Linked DNA regions of Homo sapiens: regions 2, 3, 4, 5 and 6 are each linked to region 1. The links are contacts of gene promoters, found by promoter capture Hi-C in human tissues and cell types (Jung and others, 2019). All regions are on one chromosome and are shown on one strand. The core of a region is centred on a gene start or on the middle of the fragment in contact, and the rest is flanking DNA. Distances in the headings are between cores, read along the strand shown.

Region 1 (2,828 bases), core at 246-2,745:
AATAAACAATTTTATAAGCCGGAACACCTGTGAGATAAAATACAGGTAACTGACAAGAAGAGAAGTATTATGTAGTTAACGGTTTCAAAAACAATCATCATCATAGCGTGGTCTCTTAGACACTGAAATCTGAAACTCCTTGATATGCTATAGCAAGGTTTCAAACAAAGATGTTCTGTTCAATGCATGTTTTTGTGGGATGGCGTAACTATGCAGACTATATCAGTCAACAAATGCTGTACAGAGCTGACCAATGACTCATGAAATCTTCTGTGCGATCTCTCTCCTCAGTTTCAAACGATTCATTTATAATTGCACTAGGAAAATAGCCAACAGCTTGTCACATTCTTTACACTGTCTTGGCCCAGCTCTAAACAGATAGGTTTTGAAATTTTAACTTAAAATTTTAATCTTTATTTTAAAACATGTATATACATTGTGGTAAAATATCACTTAGGAAAAAGAAAAGTTATTGTAGATATATAAATTTCTTTCTTTTAAAATACCTTTTGATTATATAATAAAAATTCCCCAAATAAAGTCTGAAGTTAGAGTTTGTAATTAAAAACCTCCAAAGAGTAAAAGTAACTCTTTTTCTCTTCTCTCTTCATCTCCCCCCCAAAAAATAAGCCTTCACAGAAGATGATTTTGGCATTGGTTATGATGTTTTATTGGCATTTGGGGCTTTTAATCTTTGTCTTTAAACATAATAGTAGTGATAATGCTACAGTGCTTTTCTTTTCCTGTTTTGAGCTTCTAAATCCAGCTAAGTTATTTTCACTTACTGTTACAAGACAGAGAAGAGGCCGGGCTCTGTGGCTCACGCCTGTTATCTAGCACTTTGGGAGGCCGAGGGGGGCAGATTGCCTGAGCTCAGGAGTTAGACTAGCCTGCACAACGCGGTGAAACCCCGTCTCTACTAAAAATACAAAAAATTAGCCTGGCTTGGTGCTGTGTGCCTGTAGTCCCAGCTGCTCGGGAGGCTGAAGCAGGAGAATTGCTTGAACCCGGGAGGCGGAGGTTGCAGTGAGCCCAGATCGCGCCACTGCACCCCAGCCTGGGCGACAGAGCGAGACTCCGGCTCCAAAAAATAATAATAATAATAATAAGAGAGAGGAGAAAAAACTTATTTTTCTGTAGATAATATATTGAAATGCAGATGTAGTATAGACAGTTCTAAACCAGACAATGACATTTTAAAAATAAATTTAGCCAGTCGTTTACAGAAAAACAATGACATACTGATATTAGAATAGGTGTCTCCTATTAGTTGACAATGAGTGATACATAATTTAAAACTAAGGATGACAACAGTTTCACTATTAACTCTTATTATTGTAGAAACCTGGTAAAATTGAATTCCACACTAGATGGTATAGTTTAAGACTTAACGCCTCACATTCTGACCTCATTAAATAGAAATCTGTTTAATCTCTGCAAGGAAATATTTTGTCCAGGAACGCCTACGTTTGTGGCAGGTGGAGACAGCTTATTAGGCAGCCTGCTCTCCTCTTATGATGGCCTTGGTCCGGGATCGCAGGGCTCATTATGTCATGAGCATAGTTATTAGATGGGTTCACTGCTTTTCCTCCTCCTTGAGGGGGACCTTTGGCACACGCTGGGAGGCCATGAAAGCCAAGGCCACCGAGCTGCGGGTCTGCTGCGCGCGTAGGAAGCGAGAAGCTCGGGAATTCAAGCCCCCGCAAATGCGCGGGTCCACGAGGTAGGCTGAGCTCCGCGCCTGGGTAGAGGAGGAAGCGAGCAGGGTCCAGGGGCACGGCGGGAGGCTGAAGGGTTATTTACGGGGGTGCAGCTTTCCTCTGGGGTATCGCAGCAGCCTCCAGGCTGTGGGAGTCTTGTGGGGAAGCCTTGAGGCAGGCGGGACAGTGAAAGCGCAGCGGGGTGGCTTGGGAGCCCGCCCCGCCTCCTCCTCCCCCTCTCCACTCCCCTCCTCCCGCGCGTGCTCCCTCCCCATCCTCCTTTCCATCTCTTCCCCCTTCCCCCACTCCTTCCCCCTCTTCCTTCCCTCCACACCTCCTCTACTTCCTTTCCCTCTCCCCTTCCCCCCCATCCCCAACCTTCTCCCTATCCCCCTCCTCCCCATCTCCTTCCCCCTTCCCCTCCCCACCCCGTTCCCCACCCCCCTCCACTCGCGGCCCTCCCCGGCCCCCGCCCACGGATTCCCGCGCTTCGCCGGTTACCTGGGAGTCGCCATGGCAACGGACGCCGGGTTCCCGACTCCGACTCAGGAGAGCGAGCGGCTCCGCGGGAGGCGCACGTCCGGGGCTGCAATGGCGAACTGGGGCGACTCGCCTGAGACAGAGGAGGGCCGGAAGATCATGGAGGGCCTCGAGGCCTCTATTGAACAATTCCAGTTCAACCCCAGGTGACCAGCGGGAGAGGCAGTCCCCGCCGGCCCGCCCCGGAGCCCTCGCGCCCCGGCCCTCGCTCAACGCCTTTCCAGGCCCCTTGCTCCAGCCGCTGGGCTTCAGTTTTTTGTTTGTTTTTCGAGGGGATCACTGTCCGAAAAGAGCTGCAGTTTTCACTTCTTCAAGTGTATAGCTGGACACTAAGAGCACGGACTCTGGAGCCAGACTGCCCGGATTCCAGAATCTTGGCGACCCTCTCACAGGGGCCGTGAGTTAGGCGACTGACTGCTCTGTGCCTCAGTTTTCTCAGCGGGAAATAATCGTTCATGAATGATGAAGAGTAGTGCCTGCTTCATAGATCATAGTGAATATTAAATGAGCTAATCTAGGACACAGTACCCGTCTTAGTCCCCTCGGGCTGCTGTAACAAAACAACATAGGCTGGGTGGCTTATAAGCA
Region 2 (2,828 bases), core at 100-2,599, 1.4 Mb before region 1:
GACCATGGATAACTAGAGATTTGGCTTTAGGAGATTGTTGTCATGTTGTACCCACTGTTGTCAGATCATTTAGATTTCAAGAGAAGCTGAAAATTTGAATTTTCATGTTAACGTGTCCTAATTTTTAAATGTTGATGACTAATTCAAGGTTTTCAAAATAGTGAGATCTAAGCAAAATACATCTGCTGACCAGATGTGGCTCTAGGCTTTTAGTGTGTAACCTCTTGTTTATAGGAATACTTAGGACAGCACTTGGTTTCTTTGAGTTTCACCGTTGAAGCTAAGCAGTAATCAAGGATGCTGCCGGATACCCTTGGAAAGCTTATGGTATAGGTCGGAAAGAAGTATGGGTGAGAGAAAACAAGTCGCAGAAAAGGCAGGATGGGAAGGAAGGAGAACAACTGAAGGAGACAGACAAAAGAAATGATACCATGGGAAGTGGGAGAGTGGCCATCATGTTTCTCAGGTTGCATACTGAGAATTCTGCAAGGTAACATTACTTATTAAATATTACCACTGTTGTATGGAGGCAGTATAGTGTTATAGTTGAAAGTGCAGAGTTTAGTGCCCAAGAACTGAATTCAAGGCCTGGAGTTGTTCCTGGCTCTGTGGCAGTGGTATGGCTTGAGTGTTACTTGCCTTCTCCTCTCTGACAGTACCAACATCAGGGATTGTTGTGAAGTTTAAAATGAGATAACCTGGATATAGCATTTAACATAGTGCTGGCGTGTTGAGTGCTTAATACATGCTTACAATTATTATTAGCGTATTCTAAGTTGGTATAGGTGATGTTATATGAGATTTACATTAAAAGTAAAGAGATGGTAGTAAAAAATCCATTAATTTAATTTTAAAAATTACAAATGCATGGTCACTTGTAAAAACTGGAAAATTAAAATTGGTTTACTTAATTAAATCCTTCAAATTCAACTCCTGTTAATATATTGATACTGCCATTTTTTTTCACCCAGTGTGTCTAGTTTGTGTGTGGGTTTTACAAGTTGGAATATTATGTACACTTTTCCATTTTAGGACATCATTTTCAATGCCTATATAATATAGAGTGTAAAGTACAGTGTATAATATTATACACTATAATATAAACTATGTATTATGTGTGTGTGTATATATATTGAAACCATTTATCTGTTGAACATTTAAATTGCTTCCAGTGTTCTGCTCTTATAATGTGTGGTGAATATCTTTGTGTTTTAAACTGTTTCCTGTTCAGGATTATTTTCATAGGATACAGTCTTAGAGGTGAAATTACTGGGTCATAGTGACACTATTTTTAGGATATAACTTTAATAACAGCCTGGGCAATATAGTGAGACCTCATCTTTACAAAACAATTAGCTGAGTATAGTAGTGCACACCTGTAGTCCCAGATATTTGGGAGGCTGAGGTGGGGCAATTGCTTGAGCCGGGGAAGTGGAGGTTGCAGTGAACCGAGATTCTGCCACTGCACTCCAGCCTGGGTGACAGAGCAAGACCTTGTCTCAAAAAACCAAAAAACAAAAAACCAAAAAAAAAACCTTAAAACAATACATTTTTTGTATTCTGAAGATCTTAGAGAGGTGATTGTTCTTGGGCTTCTTGACAGATGAGTGAATTTTAAAAAGTTGTAGATTACAATACTGGTTATTCCCATACCACAATTAAGAATGGAGGTATTGGCCAGGCGTGGTGGCTCACGCCTGTAATCCTAGCACTTTGGGAGGCTGAGGCAGGCGGATCACGAGGTCAGGAGATCGAGACCATCCTGGCTAACACGGTGAAACCCCGTCTCTACTAAAAATACAAAAAAATTAGCCAGGCGTGATGGCGGGTGCCTGTAGTCCCAGCTACTCAGAAGGCTGAGGCAGGAGAATGGCGTGAACCCGGGAAATGGAACTTGCAGTGAGCCGAGATCGCGCCACTGCACTCCAGACTGGACGACAGAGCAAGACTCCGTCTCAAAAAAAAAAAAAAAAAAAAAGAACCGGAAGTATTTTCTCCCCCTCACCAAGGTGTGTGATAAATTTCAAATGTTCTAATCAGTGTTTAGAAATAGGGGTTGAATGTTTGGTAATAATGGAGCCAGATACAAGAAGTTGTGCATTAAGGTTTCATATATATGGCATATCACATAATCCCAGTTCTTGGTTTCCTTCAAGTCCAATGACAGCTGTTATTACACAGCCACATACATAGGGAACTCAGAAGGAATACTGGGGAGCATCAAGCATGGGAGATCCTGGCATTATCACTTCTGTAGATACTTGTATACAGCCTGCGGTCTGTTTTCAGCTCAGCATCGAGTATGATCATTTTAAACATCAGAACATGAACATGGTATTCTACCAGAGTCCACCAGAGGCTGCCCATATTAGCATAAAAGCCAAGGGCCTGAAGAGATTTTGTTCCCTTCTTTCATTATCTCCAGTACCCTGTTTCTACTTCCTTTTCAAACCCTAGTCATTCTTCTCTAACCACACTGGCCTCCTTTGCTGTTCATCTCAGGGCCTTTGCACTCACCGTTCCCACTTCCTGAAATACTTTCATTTCAGATCTCTGCATAGCCTGCTGCTTTGCTTTCTTTAGGGTTCTATTCACATGTTCCCTTCTCAGAGAAATGTTCTGTTCCAATTTAAGATATTACAAAGGGAAAAACAATCATGCCATTAAAGAAGGCACTTTTTTTTTTCTTTGAAAGAAGGTTGTAAAATGATTGGAAATTTTTATTATTTAATGGAAATCTCATTTTGTATAAGTCCATTTCAGGAAAGAAGAGCCGGAGGAATCCTAGATTGGATCCTTCGAACTGGAAACGACAAGGAGATACCCAC
Region 3 (2,828 bases), core at 232-2,731, 1.3 Mb before region 1:
GCTGGGATTACAGGCATGAGCCACTCCACCTGGCCACCAAATTGAATTCTGTTATCTCTGACTTTCCTTCTAGCTATAAAATTCTTTGAAATTGTGTAGTCTCTCAAGTGTTGCCAATGAAAATGAGTTCACCATTAACATTGGTTGCTGATATAGTATTACTGATAACTCAAAATTAACTTACATTATAAAAACTTATTTATACATACATTTAATAAGATGAGTTTCTGATAATCATAGTCAAGATAATCATAGCTCATCAAGCAAAATAGTGAAACCACATGATATGTGTCTGACCGTCTGTAGCTTTTTCTTCCGTAGCCTATATTCGTGCTTGGTATTGCTGGTATCTGCTCAAAGGGGATTGCATTATTTCATTGGTAGCTAAGATGAACTGAAATTTAAGCTCGACTTTTAATTTGGTGATTCCTGTCTACCCAAAGGGAAGGGAAGTAATTGTTTTTAACCACAGAAATGCAATCTGTTCCTTGATTCAGAGTAAACAAGATTTTATTCATATCATAAAGTAGCTTTTGAAAATATCTCTATTTGGTAAAACTTCTTTACAAGAAAATGTGTAAAAATAGGCATATCTGTATTTGAGTTTATGTCTGTTTCTCTGGTTTTGTCTAGTTGTTGTGAAATGTGCTATATGCACTCACTGCCTCAAATGAGGAAAATGGAGAAATAAGGAAATAAGAACAATTCCCCAACAATGTTTTAAAGTCTTCATTTTCTATTATCTTTGTTTTATGTAAACTTTACTCATTTCGTATAAATTTCATTCATTTTTGAGGTCCTGCTTTCTGTCAGGTTTTGTGTTGGGCACTAGAGTAAGACTTGGGCATCTTGTCAGGAAGCTGCTCTGTGATTAAAGAGATAGATGTATGAACAAGCAATTATAATATGGTTAGTAAGTCCTACAGTAAAGGTACTCTCTACAGTAGAGGGCCTGGGAAACTGCCTTTTTTTTTCTTTGAGACAGGGTCTCCATCACCCAGACCTCATGGGCTCACCCTCCCACCTCAGCCTCCTGAGTAGCTTGGACTACAGGCATGCACCACCACACCTGGCTAAATTTTGTATTTTTTGTAGAAATGGGGTTTCACCATGTTGGCCAGGTTGGTATCAGGTTGCCCTTGCTCTCCTGGAAGTAGCAGGTGAACTTCTGGGCTCAAACCATTGCCTGCCTCAGTCTCCCAAAGTGCTGGGATTATGGATGTGAGTCACCTCACCTGGCTTAGAAACTGCTTTTAAGCCTTAAAGTACACTGATCGGGAAGTTCTGCTGTAAGGCACTTTGGTGCTGAGAAAGGAATAGTTTATTCAGTTAGTACACGGGAAACATGTGAAAACAGTCATAACTCATCTGCAGGGATGTGCCGCCCAATATTGCAACTGGATGTGAAAGGTAACAACTGCTTGCGTGCATGTTCATTATGGAAAATCCATGAATCGTTCAGGAAAAAATTTAAACAGCTCCTAATTCCAAAAAGTGTGTATGTGATTAAAATAATTTTGATCATATTGGGGAGTTTTATATTTTTGCTTAACATTATATTTTGGGCATTTTCTCATGCCATTGAAAAATGTTCACAGTCATGACTTTAGGAGCTGTATCATAATTTACTTACTATTCTTTTTTGTTGTTGTTAGACAACATAGTTTCCAGTTTGAGTTTATTTATCTTTATTTTTATTTATTTATTTATTTATTTGAGATAGGGTCTCACTCTGTTGCCCAGGCTGGAGTGTGTGGCGCCATCTCGGCTCACTGCAGCCTTGACCTCTTGGGCTCAAGGGATCCACCTGCCTTAGCCTCCCATGTAGCTTGGACCACAGATGCATGCTACTATGTCTGGCTGATTTTTAAATTTTTTGTAGAGACAGGGCCTCATCATGTTACACAGCTGGTTTCAACTCCTGGGCTCAAGCAGTCCTCTTGCCTCGGCTTCCCAAAGTGCTGGGATTACAGGCATGACTCACCATGTCCGGCCTAAGTAGTTTCCAATTTGAGTTATTTATACCTTGGAATGAATAGCTTGTAATCTGTCTTTTTGCCCTTATCTCTTATTTCATTATTTACTAGCTTAACAAGTATAAAATTGAAGTTTCTTAGTAGATATTGCCAAGTAGGTTTATAGGAAGATTGTACTTCCAGTGAAGTATATGTGAATTCCCATTTGATTTCATCTTAACAGTGTGGTACCATGTTTTTCTTGATTTGTTTTAGCTTAATATCTTTTCTTCAGTGTCCTCTCCTTATTGAAAATAATGTTAGTGAGTGGGTTAACTAAACTGGAGTGCAGTGGTGCGATCTTGGCTCACTGCAACCTCCACTTCCCAGGTTCAAGCGATTCTCCTGCCTCAGCCTCCTGAGTAGCTGGGATTACTGGCGTCTGCCACCATGCCTGACAAATTTTTGTATTTCTAGTAGAGACGGGGTTTTACCATGTTGGCCAGGCTGATCTTGAACTCCTGACCTCAAGTGATCCGCCCACCTCGGCCTCCCAAAGTGCTGGGATTACAGGTGTGAGCCACTGCACCAGCCAAGAAGACAATTCTATCAATACGGTATTATATTTAGAAAAGAAAGAGGTTTGTTGCACTAAATGATAATCTCATTGTATCTTTATGACTGGTAGATACTCTTTGGGAAGTTAACAGCAAATCAGGAATGTAAATAAAATCGTGATCTTTGATTTTGGTAGACATGCTTAAAAGGTAACTGATTATAAATGCTTAATAGAGCTAGTTAGGCTTTGAGAGTAGGGGCCAAATGCTTATGACACTATAAACTGCTAATATCTATATTGATTGGATGCTCTTG
Region 4 (2,828 bases), core at 180-2,679, 1.3 Mb before region 1:
CAGCAGTTTACTTTGTAATTTTTTAAAATCTATTTTTAAATAATTACAAGAATAGTATGTGCTGGTTGAAAATATTTGAAATAATGCAGAAAGGTATAATAAAAAGAAAGTCCTTCTCCATCTACACCATCCCCTTCTCCCATTCCCTATGCTGGCATGGTTGGCATCTACCAACAAACATGAAGTTACTCTTGCTTTTATCATAGGTAAAGGCATTAAATTAATAACCTGTTAAAGGTGAACTGAAAGGCAGGAATTTTAATCTTACCACCTTATTTATTCTTCAGGTTTTTTTTTTTTTTTTTTTTTTTTCTCTGTTTCATTTTGTTTACCATTTATCATAGGTATGGTCATGGTGATTTTGATGTGACTGTATAAAAAATGAACTAGAGATTATTTTAGGGTTATTTAGTTACTATTAGGCATTGTACATATAATCAAGATCCAGGCTGTTAATATTAAGTTGTATTTAACATACTGTTTGGAGTTCTAATTACAAAGAAAGAATTCTTTGGGTCATCTTTCTTATTTTCTTCCTCCTCCTCCTCCCCCCCCCCCCCCACTTTTTAGAGCTTTTTGTATCTAATAGGCAAAACAGGGCTGTTAGGGAAGGCTTCAGTTTTTAAAATACAAGCTGTTAAACTCCAAAAGGTGTAATACTTAAGTACAAGGGTAAAGAAAGCTCAAGAAGGAATGTGAAGTGGTATACAAAAAGGCTGAGTGGAAAAAATGGCTAAAAATGTTTTGTCATATTCTGTTGAATTCACAAGAGCTAGTAAATTGGGAAAAATTTAAATGTTGTCTGATTCTATCAAAACACTTTCATATGTTGTAAAGTATCCATTTGGGCTTAAAGCCTAACTAAAATTCAAAATTGTTAATACTGAATATGTAATTCTTATGACATTGGTTTCAAAAATAATATTCCTCCCCAAATTTGAATAAAGGAGATAGCTTTAAAATATTAGTTCTACCCGGGCTCGGTGGTTCACACCTGTAATCCTGGCACTTTGGGAGTCCGAGGCAGGTGGATCACTTGAGGTCAGGAGTTCGAGACCAACCTGGCGAACATAGTGAAACCCCACCTCCATTAAAAATACAAAAATTAGCTGAGCATGGTGGCTCATGCCTGTAATCCCAGCTACTCAGGAGGCTGAGGCAGGAGAATTGCTTGAACCTGGGAGGCACAGGTTGCAGTGAGCCAAGATTGCGCCACTGCACTCCAGCCTGGGCAACAGAGTGAGACTCGGTCTCAAAAAAAAAAAAAAAAAAAAGTTCTAGAACAGCATTTCCCAGGCAGATATTCTAATTATTTTAAAATCTCTGGGGAAAAAAATGGGTTCCCTGGCGAGTAAGTTTGTACTTTTGAGTTTCACAATGTACATTTTGTGAAAAATGTTCTTGAATGAATTCATATTTTATCTCAACCATATCTGCTTACATTAGATAATAGTACTGCATGTGTGAGATGTTCACTGTTAATGCCTGCATTTGTATGGATTTCAGGGCCCCTTGTGATAACTTAACTCAGAAGTGGGGACCTGTGACTGTAATGTAGACTATTTAGCATTTAGAATTGCCATACAGGAATATTAGAGATGTCTGAAGTATGTAAAATATTCTCAAGTTTTAATAGTTCCAGCCGTATACTTCTATTACTAAACAGTAATATTTCTTCCCAAATTTGAATAAAGGAGTCATCTTTAAAATATTAGTTCTAGAATAGCATTACCCAAGTAGATATTCTAATTATGTTAAAACCTCTGGGAAAAAAATGGCCTCCATGGTGAATAAGTTTATATTTTCCTTTCGAATTTCACAATGTACATTAGTGTCGTCGTGGTTTTGAGAAATCAAAAAGCTTGCCAAGTGGCCCTACATCATTGACCATAGGGACCTCCTCTCCCCCATCCTCCTTTTCAGGTGGTATATAATAAAACTACACAAGGATGTTGTGGGAAATGCTGTACCAGACAGTACAGTATTCTCTCATCCAGACACAATTTTCCTATTGCAGAAAAGTATTGGTATGATTCTAATCAGCATGGAAAAGATAGACTTGGTGTGTCAATGCACACACCCAAAATGCATGTTGGGATTAACTGTATTCATGCCATAAAAATACTATGTAGACATATTTTATTTTATATGGCTAGCTTTAATTTGTCACTGCATTCTAGTCTCTGTTCTATAATATTTATTATAGGTTAACAAGAATTACTCTGGAAGTAATATTTTTATGTCTATCCAGTAGTTATTTTTGCAAACTAATACAATAGTACAAAAGGCACAGTGTTGAAAGATCTTAATTTTTGAGTGAAACTTACTTAAAAGAAGTCATTTTCCCCCCTGAATCTTAGTGTAAAGGCAGCTGCAGTCTGCTGACAGCTTGTGGTTATGCTCTGATTTACTGGGGAAGGAGGAGGTTGTACTATTTTAAATGCATAATAGAGCATTCGTTTCGTCATCTGGAAGCAGAGATGGAAGAAGCTGGGGGGAAATGAGAGACATCACTGTTGCTTTCGTGGAGGGAAGCTTTGTAGCATGTTATCAGACAGCAGTGCATATTGAAGAAAATATCTGTTAGGAATGCATGTCACCAGATGTATTTTGCTTTCAAGAATGGTAGACACATCAAACAAGAATCAGATAAAAGCCTGAGAAAAAGATGTTCAGAAGAATACTGGAGTTATTCTTTATGCTTCACTGCCCTTTACCTCTCTTGGTACCTTCCAGAGAAACAAGTATAGATGTATTTTTAGCTTGCCGTTTCCAGCATCAATATGACAACATGATTTTGTCTTTATATCAGTAAGCAGCTTCTACTA
Region 5 (2,828 bases), core at 223-2,722, 1.1 Mb before region 1:
CCATTACTGGGTATATACCCAAAGGATTATAAATCACGCTGCTATAAAGACACATGCACAGGTATGTTTATTGCGGCACTATTCACAATAGCAAAGACTTGGAACCAACCCAAATGTCCAACAAGGATAGACTGGATTAAGAAAATGTGGCACATATACACCATGGAATACTATGCAGCCATAAAAAATGATGAGTTCATGTCCTTTGTAGGGACATGGATGAAGCTGGAAACCATCATTCTCAGCAAACTATCGCAAGGACAAAAAACCAAAGACCGCATGTTCTCACTTATAGGTGGGAATTGAAGAATGAGAACACATGGACACAGGAAGGGGAACATCACACACCAGGGACTGTTGTGGGGTGGGGGGAGGGGGGAGGGATAGCATTAGGATATACCTAATGCTAAATGATGAGTTAATGGGTGCAGCACACCAACATGGCACATGTATACATATGTAACAAACCTGCACGTTGTGCACATGTACCCTAAAACTTAAAGTATAATAATAATTAAAAACAGAAATGAAACAAATGTTTAATAAAGCATATTTTGTTTGTTCTAAAGTCTTAGTAGGAACATCACTTCAAAATTGCAAAACTTAAATGGAAATATCAAGGAAGGGAGGCTGTGGGCTGTGTATAAACAAGCAGAAACAAGTTCAAATCCAGTGTCCAACATTGATCAGATGTGTGAGCTTGGGAAAGACCTCTTTGGCTTCAGTTTTATCACCTGTGAAAACGAAGTCAGTATACCCACTTTGCCAGAGTTACTGACTAATTTAAATAATATGTAAAGTACTTAACACACTGCCTACTCTGCAGACACAAAAAGGTTTGCTATCTTCTATCTAGAACAACGATGGTAGAGAATGAATACTATTTATATCCTGATAGATTGCACCAAGAAATTAATAGAGTTCCTATACATTTTTACAGTTTTACAGAAAAAAGAAGTCAAAGTAGAATGTGCAACCAAAGGAAGATGAAAGTAGGAAAATTAAAAAGAGAGTCCAGGAATGAAGCCAACACACAAAACACACGCCACAAATGCCTGTACCCTTGCTGTGGGTGGGCCACAAATTTAATTCTAAGCTTTAGAGTAGCAACACAAAGAGGGAAAATGATCACTTACAAGACTCAAAGTGTCCATATGATAAAAATAAACCAGGAGAAGCACAACTATTTCTGGTGATGAGAACAGAGAGATATTTTTACAGTGGGTCCTCATTAATGATAGAAAATGAATAATATGGCATTTGTAGGACCATCAGTAGGACACTCAGCGCATCCTGTTTAACAAGTGTGTTTACTCTGCACTCACCAGGGGTTAAGATGCCATGACTGGTTTTTGGAGGGACGTGAAGATGAATCATCACATAATATGGCTTGTGGCTTTGAAGAGTGTACAGTCTTTTGCATGAGATGAACACACAGCTAAATGATTATAACACAATGCGAATGTGCAACAGGCCCCCAAAAGGGAAAGATGAATTCTGACAGAGCATTAGCGAAAGCTTCCTGGGGTAGGAAGTCTTTTATTTGGGCTCTAAAAACAAGTTTTTATTATTTTGTAAAAGATTTTATTATGGGCTGGGCATGGTGGCTCACGCCTGTAAATCCAGCACTTTAGGAGGCCGAGGCGGGTGGATCACCTGAGGTCAGGAGTTCGAGACCAGCCTGGTCAACGTGGTGAAACCCCGTCTCTAGTAAAAAATACAAAAATGTGCCAAGAGTGGTGGTGTGCACCTGTAGTCCCGGCTACTCAAGAGGCTAAGGGAGGAGAATTGCTTGAACACGGGAGGCAGAGGTTGCAGTGAGCTGAGATCGCACCACTGCACTCCAGCCCGGTGACAGAGTGAGACTCTGTCTCAGAAAAAAGAAAAGAAAAGAAAAGAAAACAAACAGATTTTATTATGAAAATTTTCAAACACAAAAAAGTAGAGAAAACAATAAAAGGTACCCCCATCATCCAGCTTTGACATTTTTCAACATTTTACCATTTTGTTTCATCTACTTCCACCTTTTTGTTTTCTTGGTTTGCTGCAGTATTTTAAAGCAAGTCCCATTTTTCATGTCATTTAACCTGTAAACACTTTAGTATGTTCCATCTTTTAAAACATAACCACTAACCTATTATTATGCCTAACAGAATTACCAGCTATCCCTTAATATCTCCTGATTCCTAACACATGTTCAAATTTCCCAAATAGTTTTAAAGATGTCTTTTACAGTTGCTTTGTTCTTCTCAAAATCTGAAGATGGTGCACAGGCCACATTTTGTTATTATGGTACAGAAGACCCCCGAGAAACTTAACTGTGCTCCCTCCCCCACTTTTTTTTCATGACTGCAATTTGCTGAAGGAATTAGACAATTGTTCTGGAATATGTTAGATGAGTAGAATTTTGAAAGGCAGATATGTAGAGAGGGAGAGTGAATTTGAGACACTTGGAAAAAGAGAACAGGAGAATGAGATGTGGGAAGTAAGAACTGTTAGGTGATTCAGTAGAGAGATAATGAAGGCTATAATTTCAGCAGCCACGGTGCCTGGGTTTAAATCTCTGTTCTGCTACTCTCTGGCTGTGTGGCCTTGGGGAAATCTCTTAACATAAGGAGCTGTCTCATCATCTGTAAACAGGGGGGCTTATACCAAGACCTGGCTCAAAAGTTTATCTTGAGGATTAAATAATTAACATTACTGTCCAGGCGCAGTAGCCCACGCCTGTAATTTGAGAGGCTGAGGCAGGTGGATCACCTGAGGTCAGGAGTTTGAGACCAGCCTGGCCAACATGGCAAAATCCCATTTCTTCTAAAAATACAAAAATT
Region 6 (2,828 bases), core at 92-2,591, 1.0 Mb before region 1:
AGCCAGTTAAAAAAAATGGATTTATTAAATGGCTTGCAGAATCACTGGGCTGAATCTTCACAGTAAAACTGGGTGACTATAGACCTGGTTTGGTAAAGAGGAAGCTTCCTTAAACTCTGGTCAGGTGTGATTCCAAAGCCATGCTGCCTTGATTGGAAGCTGCCAGCACAGATGCAGAGTTGGGCCTCACCTTCACTTCAGTACTAGAGATGGATGCCTGCCCCAGCAGTCTCAACCCGATCAAGCTGGTGGCCGTGCCCTGGGAGCTTGGCAAATAATGCTGAAAAAAAACAAAACAAAACAAAACAAAAAACCCAAGTCTCCACAACTGCCTTGCTTCTCACCTTCCAGAACCCAGCACATTGGATATTCCAGAAAGAATCTGCTTTCCAGCCTCAGTGGTAGCAGCAGGTGCACTAGGAAGAGACTGGTATGGGTGATTCCAGCCAGACACCCTAACCACCCACTCCCAGCTACTTAGGCCAGGGCGCTGGTTCTGATGCTAGAGAGAATGCTCTGACATTTTGTTGTTGTGGTTGTTGTTGTATTTTCTTTCTTTCTTTTTTTTTTTTATTATACTTTAAGTTCTAGGGTACATGTACACAACGTGCAGGTTTGTTACATATGTATACATGTGCCATGTTGGTGTGCTACACCCATTAACTCATCATTTACATTAGGTATATCTCCTAATGCTATCCCTCCCCCATTCCCCCACCCCACCACAGGCCCCAGTGTGTGATATTCCCCACCCTGTGTCCAAGTGTTCTCATTGTTCAATTCCCACCTATGAGTGAGAACATGTGGTGTTTGGTTTTCTGTCCTTGCGATAGTTTGCTGAGAATGATGGTTTCCAGCTTCATCCATGTCCCTACAAAGGACATGAACTCATCCTTTTTTATGGCTACATAGTATTACATGGTGTATATGTGCCACATTTTCTTAATCCAGTCTATCATTGATGGACGTTTGGGCTGGTTCCAAGTCTTTGCTATTGTGAATAGTGCTGCAATAAACGTACGTGTGTGTGTTTATAGCAGCATGATTTATAATCCTTTGGATATATGCCCAGTAATGGGATGGTTGGGTCAAATGCTATTTCTAGTTCTAGATCCTTGAGGAATCACCACACTGTCTTCCACAATGGTTGAACTAGTTTACAGTCCCACCAACAGTGTAAAAGTGTTCCTATTTCTCCACATCCTCTCCAGCACATGTCGTTTCCTGACTTTTTAATGATCGCCATTCTAACTGGTGTGAGATGGTATCTCATTGTGGATTGATTTGCATTTCTCTGATGACCAGTGATGATGAGCATTTTTTCATGTGTCTGTTGGATGCATAAATGTCTTCTTTTGAGAAGTGTCTGTTCATATCCTTCGCCCGCTTGTTGAAGAGTTTGATTTTTTCTTGTAAATTTGTTTAAGTTCTTTGTAGATTCTGGATATTAGCCCTTTGTCAGGTGGGTAGATTGTAAAAATTTTCTCCCATTCTGTAGGTTGCCTGTTCACTCTGATGGTAGTTTCTTTTGCTGTACAGAAGCTCTTTAGTTTAATTAGATCCCATTTGTCAATTTTGGCTTTTGTTGCCATTGCTTTTGGTGTTTTAGTCATGAAGTCTTTGCCCATGCCTCTGTCCTGAATGGTATTGCCTAGGTTTTCTTCTAGGGTTTTTGCGGTTTTAGGTCTAACATTTAAGCCTTTAATTCATCTTGAATTAATTTTTGTATAAGCTGTAAGGAAGGGATCCAGTTTCAGCTTTCCACATATGGCTAGCCAGTTTTCCCGGCACCATTTATTAAATAAATAGGGAATCCTTTCCCCATTGCTTGTTTTTGTCAGGTTTGTCAAAGATCAGACAGTTGTAGATGTGTGGTATTATTTCTGAGGGCTCTGTTCTGTTCCATTGGTCTGTATCTCTGTTTTGGTACCAGTACCATGCTGTTTTGGTTACTGTAGCCTTGTAGTATAGTTTGAAGTCAGGTAGTGTGATGCCTCCAGCTTTGTTCTTTTGGCTTAGGATTGTCTTGGCTATACAGCCTCTTTTTTGGTTCCATATGAACTTTAAAGTAGTCTTTTCCAATTCTGTGAAGAAAGTCATTGGTAGCTTGATGGGGATGGCATTGAATCTATAAATTACCTTGGGCAGTATGGCCATTTTCACAATATTGACTCTTCCTATCCATGAGCATGGAATGTTCTTCCATTTGTTTGTGTCCTCTTTTATTTCGTTGAGAAGTGGTTTGTAGTTCTCCTTGAAGAGGTCCTTCACATCCCTTGTAAGTTGGATTCCTAGGTATTTTATTCTCTTTGAAGCAATTGTGAATGGGAGTTCACTCATGATTTGGCTCTCTGTTTGTCTGTTATTGGTGTATAGGAATGCTTGTGATTTTTGCACATTGATTTTGTATCCTGAGACTTTGCTGAAGTTGCTTATCAGCTTAAGGAGATTTTGGGCTGAGACAACGGGGGTTTTTAAATATACAGTCATGTCACCTGCAAACAGGGAGAATTTGACTTCCTCTTTTCCTAATTGAATACCCTTTATTTCTTTCTCTTGCCTGATTGCCCTGGCCAGAACTTCCAACACTATGTTGAATAGGAGTAGTGAGAAAGGGCATCCCTGTCTTCTACCAGTTTTCAAAGGGAATGCTTCCAGTTTTTGCCCATTCAGTATGATATTGGCTGTGGGTTTGTCATAAGTAGCTCTTATTATTTTGAGATATGTCCCATCAATACCTAGTTTATTGAAAGTTTTTAGCATGAAGGCTGTTTAATCTTGTCGAAGGCCTTTTCTGCATCTATTGAGATAATCATGTGGTTTTTGTC

What was found. The method cuts DNA at HindIII sites, captures the fragments that hold promoters and counts their contacts. A contact is called where the count stands out against the background at its distance.
Region 2: a fragment that was not itself captured here is called in contact with the fragment with the promoter of C10orf67 in region 1 in 1 of the 25 tissues and cell types used here (mesenchymal stem cells).
Region 3: a contact is called between a fragment that was not itself captured here and the fragment with the promoter of C10orf67 in region 1, in 1 of the 25 tissues and cell types used here (lymphoblastoid cells).
Region 4: a contact is called between a fragment that was not itself captured here and the fragment with the promoter of C10orf67 in region 1, in 1 of the 25 tissues and cell types used here (stomach).
Region 5: a contact is called between a fragment that was not itself captured here and the fragment with the promoter of C10orf67 in region 1, in 1 of the 25 tissues and cell types used here (IMR-90 fibroblasts).
Region 6: a contact is called between a fragment that was not itself captured here and the fragment with the promoter of C10orf67 in region 1, in 2 of the 25 tissues and cell types used here (dorsolateral prefrontal cortex and mesenchymal stem cells).

Annotation. Positions count from the first base shown.
Region 1 is chr10:23,343,464-23,346,291 of GRCh38, reverse strand. C10orf67 (chromosome 10 open reading frame 67) reads left to right here and starts at 1,495. Exons shown (of 16, transcript NM_001371909.1): 1 at 1,495-1,723. The coding sequence starts at 1,518. C10orf67-AS1 (C10orf67 antisense RNA 1) reads right to left here and starts at 2,335. Exons shown (of 2, transcript NR_155752.1): 1 at 2,202-2,335; 2 at 1,131-1,868. RefSeq lists a silencer at 78-372. The HindIII fragment of the contact is 15,239 bases long and covers 1-2,828 here.
Region 2 is chr10:24,701,278-24,704,105 of GRCh38, reverse strand. The region is part of intron 2 of ARHGAP21 (Rho GTPase activating protein 21); the gene reads left to right. Among named protein-coding and RNA genes, the nearest start is that of ARHGAP21, 21 kb to the left of the region's middle. The HindIII fragment of the contact is 5,523 bases long and covers 1-2,828 here.
Region 3 is chr10:24,685,316-24,688,143 of GRCh38, reverse strand. The region is part of intron 2 of ARHGAP21 (Rho GTPase activating protein 21); the gene reads left to right. Among named protein-coding and RNA genes, the nearest start is that of ARHGAP21, 37 kb to the left of the region's middle. The HindIII fragment of the contact is 6,583 bases long and covers 1-2,828 here.
Region 4 is chr10:24,622,784-24,625,611 of GRCh38, reverse strand. All of the region lies in intron 7 of ARHGAP21 (Rho GTPase activating protein 21), which reads left to right. Among named protein-coding and RNA genes, the nearest start is that of ARHGAP21, 100 kb to the left of the region's middle. The HindIII fragment of the contact is 4,722 bases long and covers 1-2,828 here.
Region 5 is chr10:24,443,076-24,445,903 of GRCh38, reverse strand. The region is part of intron 5 of KIAA1217; the gene reads right to left. Among named protein-coding and RNA genes, the nearest start is that of MIR603, 170 kb to the right of the region's middle. The HindIII fragment of the contact is 3,473 bases long and covers 1-2,828 here.
Region 6 is chr10:24,387,295-24,390,122 of GRCh38, reverse strand. The region is part of intron 3 of KIAA1217; the gene reads right to left. Among named protein-coding and RNA genes, the nearest start is that of MIR603, 110 kb to the right of the region's middle. The HindIII fragment of the contact is 6,473 bases long and covers 1-2,828 here.